2 separate regions of the Homo sapiens genome follow, and region 1 is linked to region 2. The links are contacts of gene promoters, found by promoter capture Hi-C in blood cells and fetal thymus (Javierre and others, 2016). All regions are on one chromosome and are shown on one strand. Each heading gives the region's core, a stretch centred on a gene start or on the middle of the fragment in contact. The rest is flanking DNA. Distances are from core to core; before and after follow the strand shown. Region 1 has its middle 14 kb from the start of MIR4645. Region 2 holds the start of SERPINB6 (serpin family B member 6).

What was found. Contacts are between HindIII fragments. The CHiCAGO score rates a contact against its expected background, and 5 or more counts as called.
Region 1: a fragment that was not itself captured here is called in contact with the fragment with the promoter of SERPINB6 in region 2 in 1 of 17 cell types (monocytes); the score reaches 5.3 in monocytes.

What each region holds. Positions count from the first base shown.
Region 1 is chr6:2,866,112-2,869,717 of GRCh38, reverse strand. It overlaps the pseudogene SERPINB9P1. Among named protein-coding and RNA genes, the nearest start is that of MIR4645, 14 kb to the right of the region's middle. RefSeq lists enhancers at 2,752-2,901, 2,922-3,031. The HindIII fragment of the contact is 2,553 bases long and covers 1,049-3,601 here.
Region 2 is chr6:2,969,467-2,973,039 of GRCh38, reverse strand. It overlaps SERPINB6 (serpin family B member 6), which reads left to right and starts at 1,473. Exons shown (of 7, transcript NM_004568.6): 1 at 1,473-1,507. RefSeq lists an enhancer at 1,168-1,692. The HindIII fragment of the contact is 12,287 bases long and covers 1-3,573 here.

The sequences.
Region 1 (3,606 bases), core at 1,076-3,575, 100 kb after region 2:
CTAGCTCAAGGTTTGTAAACACACCAATCAGTGCTCTGTATCTAGTTAATCGAGTGAGGACTTGGAGAACTTTTATGTCTAGCTAAAGGATTGTAAATGCACCAATCAGCACTGTGTCTAGCTCAGGGTTGTAAATGCGCCAGTCAGCACCCTGTCAAAACGGACTAATCAGCTTTCTGTAAAATGGACCTATCAGCTCTCTGTAAAATGGACCAATCAGCTCTCTGTAAAATGGACCATTAGCAGGAGGTGGGTGGGGCCAGATAAGGGAATAAAAGCAGGCTGCCTGACCTAGTAGCACAAACTGCTGAGTTTGTTTTCTGTGTTGGGGTTTTTGATTTTTTTTTTTTACGTTCTTCAGGCTAAACTGTGGTGCGTTTTGTTTTTTGATTCTTGGGCTCTGTGTTTTTAGGAGCTGTAATACTTCACATGAAAGTTTGTGGGTTAACTCTTGAAGCTGATGAGGCCATGAACTAGCTAGCAGAAAAAATTGTGCCTATCTGAATGTCAAAAGGAATAAGCTCTGGGTGTCTTTATGTCTTTCTTAAGAACTGTAACGCTCACTGTGAGGTTTTTGTGGCTTTTTTTGCTTAATTTAGGTGTGATCAAGAATCCACAAATTTCAGACATTACTTTCCACTGAAGCTTAATTATTTTAGATCGGAGCCTAAGCATTGGTGTTTAAAACTTTCTCAGGTGGTTTTAGTTACCTTCTGGGGTTGAATCAAATCTGGCTCTAAGTGGTTTTCTGTATGGGCAATATTAGAATTGTTAGGATTCGTGAGACCTCTGAATTTTCAAGCCCCATCTGAGACTTCAGGAATTTTGAGAATGGGCATTTCCGGGTGAGTGATTCTGATGCATGCACTTACCTAGCCCAACCCCTCATGTCACGGGTGGTAACAAAGCTGAGAGCCTAACTTGTTACTTCTAATTCCAGCCGAGGTGGAGTAACAAGTATCAAGAGTTATCCTCCCATTGTTATTAACCGTAAACTGGACAATGTATACGAAACAACTGGTGGGTTGGTTTGGATCTTGTGGAAGCTTGGTTTTTATTAGATAATAGTTTAGAATAATCTTCTAGGGCTATACTAGCCCTAGTCCTGAGGCCTGAGATCTCTGGACTCTCAACTACATGCTGAAATGTCTAGCATATTTTAAAAAGTTATTAAACCTACGTAGTGTAAGTATGACCCATAACCAGGAAAAAGTCAATAAAAACACACGAAAGTGAGACAAATGTTAAAATTAACAAAGACTGCAATGCAACTCTTAGAAATATGTTAAAGGATTTAAGGAGTAGATGGCATAGCGAGTGAACAGATAGAAAACCTCAACAGAAAAATAGAAACTTAAAAATTACTGGGAGGCTGAGGTAGGAGAATGGCGTGAACCCAGGACGCGGAGCTTGCAGTAAGCCGAGGTTGCGCAACTGCATTGCAGCCTGGGCGACAGAGCGAGACTCCATCTCAAAAAAAAAAATTCTGAAACATTTAAAATGAAACATTTGGCAGATGAACTTAATATTGGATTGGACATTTTAAAAAATCAGTGAATTATATACATTACTTTTTACCCCTAAATACGTTTTTATATACCCCTAAATGTGCATTTTTTATTTTTTAAAAGGGCATTTTCCTATGTAACCGTAATACCTCATACTTATTAAAATGAACAATTAGTTTGTCATACTGAATCCATATTCAAATTTTCCAGCGGTCTTGGAGATACTTTTATAGCTTGTTTATTTGAGCAAGAATCCATTCAAGGGTTATGCATCAAATTTCATTGTGATGTTGCTTAAAATTCTTTTAATCCAGAACACCACCTCAGCATTGTGTCTCCTTCATTTTCTGACACATTGATTTAAGAGCTCATTCTTGTACAATATCCCACGAACAAGGTTGCCAGTGGTATTCATTTTAGTCGATTTCAGCCAGAATAGGGTTGGGAGAAGAAAAGATGCATGAAATAAAGTATTTCTGGATCTTCATGTTTTTAGCTGCTAAATCAGAGCTCTCGTGCCTATGCATATTTCATGCAACAGAAAATCGCCTGGGCTTTGTTAAATGTCAATACATCTCTCTGGCATCATTTATAATGGCTACCTTGTGATCCATTAGGTAACTTAACCATAATGTATTATTCAATCATGTAAAAACAGACATTCCAGCTATTTATATTTTTACCATTACAGATATCACTTTGATAATTTGATGGGAGGAAAATTGCACGTCATTATTTAAATTTTCATTTATTAGTCACCCATACTTCTTTTAGAATTAGCCTATTTTTATTTGCCTACTTTTGTCCTTGGGATATTCATTTTTTTGTCTTGCAGTTTTTAAGCACTCTCTACCAATAGATTTTTCTTAATGTTATATACATATCGCAAGATAATTCCCGTGCTTTTAATTTACATATTAGTGTTATTAATATTTTAAGTAAAGAACTTTTTTTATTTAAATAGTCCACTTTAGTATTTTTTTTGTTTTCTTCCTCCAGAGTCTTGCATAGAAAGTCTTCTTGACACTCAGATTATATAAATATTCACTTGTCTTTTTCCTTAGAGCTTTTATAATTTTGTGTTTTTGCATTAACTCATTTGGAACTTGTTTTAGACTAACATGAGAAGTTTAATTTTTAAGGTAATAAGTTTTATTGTGTGTATTAAAAACACTGAGGCTGGGCATGGTAGCTTACACCCGCAATCCCAGCACTTTGGGAGGCCAAGGCAGGAAGATGGCTTGAGCCCAGGAGTTCAAGACCAATCTAGGCAAGTAAGACCAGTAAGTCAAGCCTAATGAAGCCATGAGTGATAAGAAAAAGGCATTATGAACTTAGCAACACTACCAGTAAGTGGGAGTAAAGACCTTTAAGAGGTTTTTTTCCTCACACCAATCAGTTCTTTGACACCAACTGGGTGTCCAACAATTCAATTCAATTCTGACAGTACTTAACGTCCAGTTAGAGGGCTCAGCCCCCAAGACTACCCCCTCTTCAGACACCTGTCACAAATGGGGTGCCCAGGCTCTTCACACTGCTGCCCGGCCAAGTACAAATTTGGGGATTCCCATAACCTCCCTCAGGCTTAATAATTTACTAGAATGACTCACAGAACTCAAGAAAGCACTTTATTATTATCACCAGTTTATTATAAAGGCAGAAACAACCAGTGGAAGAGATGCAGAGAGCAAGTTAAGGGGGGTCGGGGGTGCGTGCAGAGAGCTTCCATTCCCTCTCTAGACACTCCACCCTCTCAGCACCTGTCTGTTCATTAACCCACATGCTCCCTCAACCTGGTCTTTTTGATTTTTATGGAGGTTCCATTACATAGGTGTTATTGATTAATTCACTGGCCATTGGTGGCTGAACTCAATTCCCAGCCCTTCTTCCCTCCCCAGGGGATCACCAAGAGCCGCCTCATCAGCATAAGCTCAGGTGTAGCTAAAGCGGCTCATTTTGAATAGCAAAACACACTCGCATTACTCAGGAAATTCCAAGGGTTTTAGGAGCTCTGTGCCGGGAACTGGGGATAAACACCAGATATATTTTTTATTATATCACGAACCTAAATGAAAGTAACCTCTTAGGAAGCTTGAAA
Region 2 (3,573 bases), core at 224-2,723:
ATTCTTATGCCTTTGTATCCTCATAGTTTAGGTCCTACTTATGAGTGAGAACATACAATGTTTGGTTTTCCATTCCTGAGTTACTTCACTTAGAACAACAGTCTCCAATCCCATCCAGGTTGCCAATGCCATTAATTCATTCCTTTTTATGGCTGAGTAGCATTCCACCGTATACGCATACCACAGTTTCTTTATCCACTCTTTGATTGATGGGCATTTGGGTTGGTTTCATGTTTTTGCAATTACGAATTGTGCTGCTATTAACATGCGTGTGCAAGTATCTTTTTTGTATAATGACTTATTTTCCTCTGCGTAGATACCCAGTAGTGGGATTGCTGGATCAAATGGTAGTTCTATTTTTAGTTATTTAAGGAATCGCCATACTATTTTCCACAGTGGTTGTACTATCCATCAGCAGTGTAGAGGTGTTCCCTCTTCACCAAATCCACGCCAACATCTATTATTTTTTGAGTTTTTGATTTTTTGATTAAGGCCACTCTTGCGGGAGTAAGGTGGTATCACATTGTGGTTTTGATTTGCATTTCCCTAATCATTAGTGATGTTGAGCATTTTTTCTTGTTTGTTGGCCATTTGCATATCCTCTTTTGAGAACTGTCTATTCATGCCAGCCCACTTTTTGATGGGATTTTTTTTTCTTGCTAATTTGTTTGAGTTTCTTGTAGATTCTGGATATTACTGCTTTGTCGGATGTATAGATTGTGAAGATTTTCTCCCACTCTGTAGGTTGTCTGTTTACTCTGCTTGACTATTCCTTTTGCTTTGCAAAAGCTATTTAGTCTACTTTTTTTTTTTTTTTTTTTTTTTTTTTTTTTGAGACGGACCAGACTGGAGTGCGGTGGCGCCATCTCGGCTCACTGCAGCCTCTGCCTCCCGGGTTCAAGTGATTCTCCTGCCTCAGCTTCCCCAGCAACTGAGATTACAGGCACGCGCCATTACACTCGGCTAATTTTTGTATTTTTAGTAGAGACGGGGTTTTGCCATGTTGGCCAGGCTGGTCTGGAACTCCTGACCTCCAGTGATCCGCCTGCCTCGGCCTCCCAGTGTTGGGATTACTGGCGTGAGCCCCGCGCCCGCCCCTGGCTGGCTTCTTTGCCGCAAGCTGTTTCATCAGCAAAGTCTTTGTGACCTGTATCTAGTCTGCTCATTTTTAAATGCGTGTTCTGCACTCCCCAGTGGATGGCCGTGTATCAGGAGCCGGCCCTTTTCTGGAAACAGGCCAGCATTCAGTCTCCACAGAGGCACCATAAACACGCTGGTGGGGCCCTGTACTGTGGTCAAAGTCAAGGCCTCCGGGCAGGACTCGCGGCCCCTCCGGCTGGCGGGTGGGGTTGACCCGCACGTCCCGCCCCGCCTCTCCCTTCGCGCTCCGGACGGGCGACGGTAGCTCGAGACCCGGGACTCCGCCCGCCTCCCCGCGAGTATTTGAGGTCCGGGGCGGCTCCGGCGCCTCTGCCCGCCGTTCTGCTCGCTCGCTCCCCGCTCTGGAGTACGTGTCTGGCTTGGGAGCCGCTCGGACACGCTGGCTTGGGTTTGTCGCTCCAAAGTCGGGAAAGCCGGGGGCGCGAGCGGGGAGGGGGGCAGGGTGGGGGTCGCGCGGGGCCGGGAACGCGCGTGGGTCGACGGCGCGCGGGGACGCTGGAGCCCCGAGAATGGGGCGTGGCCGCGCGGGGCTGTGACCCCAGCAGTCCCAGCGGGGCGGGGGCCCGGGCGAGCGTCCGGCTTGGGTTCCCTTCCGGAGCCTCGCAGCGGCAGAGAACGGCGACGCGGCCGGGTGAGTCGTGCGTGGCCGCGAGCCCGGCCGGTGACGCCGCGGACCCGAGGACCCCGGGCGCCCAGGCCCAGCGCCCACGGAAGAGGCGGCCGGCGCGGGATGGGGGCGGCGCAGAGCCTCCCGGGCCACAGGTGACCCCGGTCGGCCCCGCGGCCTCGGTGACCCCTCGCCCGCTCCGCGACCCGGAGGACGCGTGCTCAGTCTTGGGGCGCCGGGTGTTAGGAGCCGGGCGGGAGGCGGAGAGAGGCCGAGGGGTTCGGCGCCAAACGGTGCCATCCGGGCCCCCTGCGTGTGTTCACTGGACTGGCCGTGCTGGGCTTGGCCAATCCGCAGCACTTTCAGGTCGCCCAGACCTGTGGAGACGATCGTGTGGACCAGCCCGGATCTCCTTACCGCTCTGTGTTTGAATTAAACTCCCTACAGGCAAACTATTACAGGCTTTGATGTCTTCAAGGCAAAGAGGAAACTTTAACTACAAATTGGCATTTAAGTTATTTTCTTCCTTTTTTTTTTTTTTTTTTTTGTCCTAAAGATTGGCTTCGGAAAACTGAGGTACAGAAAATTAATAATTAATGTTCACATGCTGTCAGGAATACTCAGATGCGAGGGGGCATCTGAGTCCATTTTTTGGGCACTTTTGCTTTCTGGGATGCTCTCGTGCCTAATGACAGCCCTGCAGCTGCCTGCATCCTTTCTGGTGGGGGTCAGGCCTGATGCGATGAGATCTGATGTGTTCAGTGACCTTCTAGTTAAGGTCCTGGGCCGGCCTTGTATTGCTGGGGCTTTTATGTGTGCTGGGATTAACACCAGTGACTGCTGTTATCAGCATAGATGGCGTTTGTTCTCATTTCAGGACCGTATCTGAGTAATTGCATCCATTGTGATGTGCCACCAAAGAGAAAAGTACTTTGGTCATACTCGACTATGTAAACTAAGTATTTTAAGTTAAGGCCAATTCCAATGCATTTTATTACAATTCAGCATGAAACAGTTAACACGGACCAGTAACAGTAGAGTGAAATTAGCATGAATAGAACCAACATTCTTTTCCACATATGTAATAATAAGGGCACCCAAGCAGATGTTGTACGGTCCCAGGGAAGACCACACACCTTACATTTCCAGGCTTACTGCACTTGGGATTAAGCCAAGGCATCCAAAGAAAGAAAATTTTTTTTTTTTTTTTTTTTGCCAGGCTGGAGTGCAGTGGTGCGATTTCGGCTGACTGCAACCTCCACCTCCCGGGCTCCATACCTGGCTAATTTTTGTATTTTTAGTAGCAATGGGGTTTCACCATGCTGGCCAGGCTGGTCTCAAACTCCTGACCTCGTGATCTGCCCGCCTTGGCCTCCCAAAGTGCTGGGATTACAGATGTGAGCCACTGCGCCTAGCCTGAAAATAATGTTTAACTCCCATTTATATGTTAGGCTGCTCAGATATATTAAACACATACACACACAACACACACACACACACACATACACACTGCACAAGGAAACAGAGGGACAAAGCAGGAAGTCCAAGTTTCCATTAAACCAGTCTTTAAATGGTTAAATTTAGTAGGAAATAAAGGCATCCTTAATAGAAGTTGAGAAGCACAATTCAATAGTGACACCTAAAAAAAAATTAAGACTTGATTAGTTGAATAAAATCAATTGTGAACATTGCTCAGTTACTGGTGATGCTACAGGAAAAAAAAAGTGATGCCAGGATAGATTTGTTAGGCTTGTTTAAAAAATACATAAAATTGTTCATTAATAAGACTTTAATATCCAGTTTTT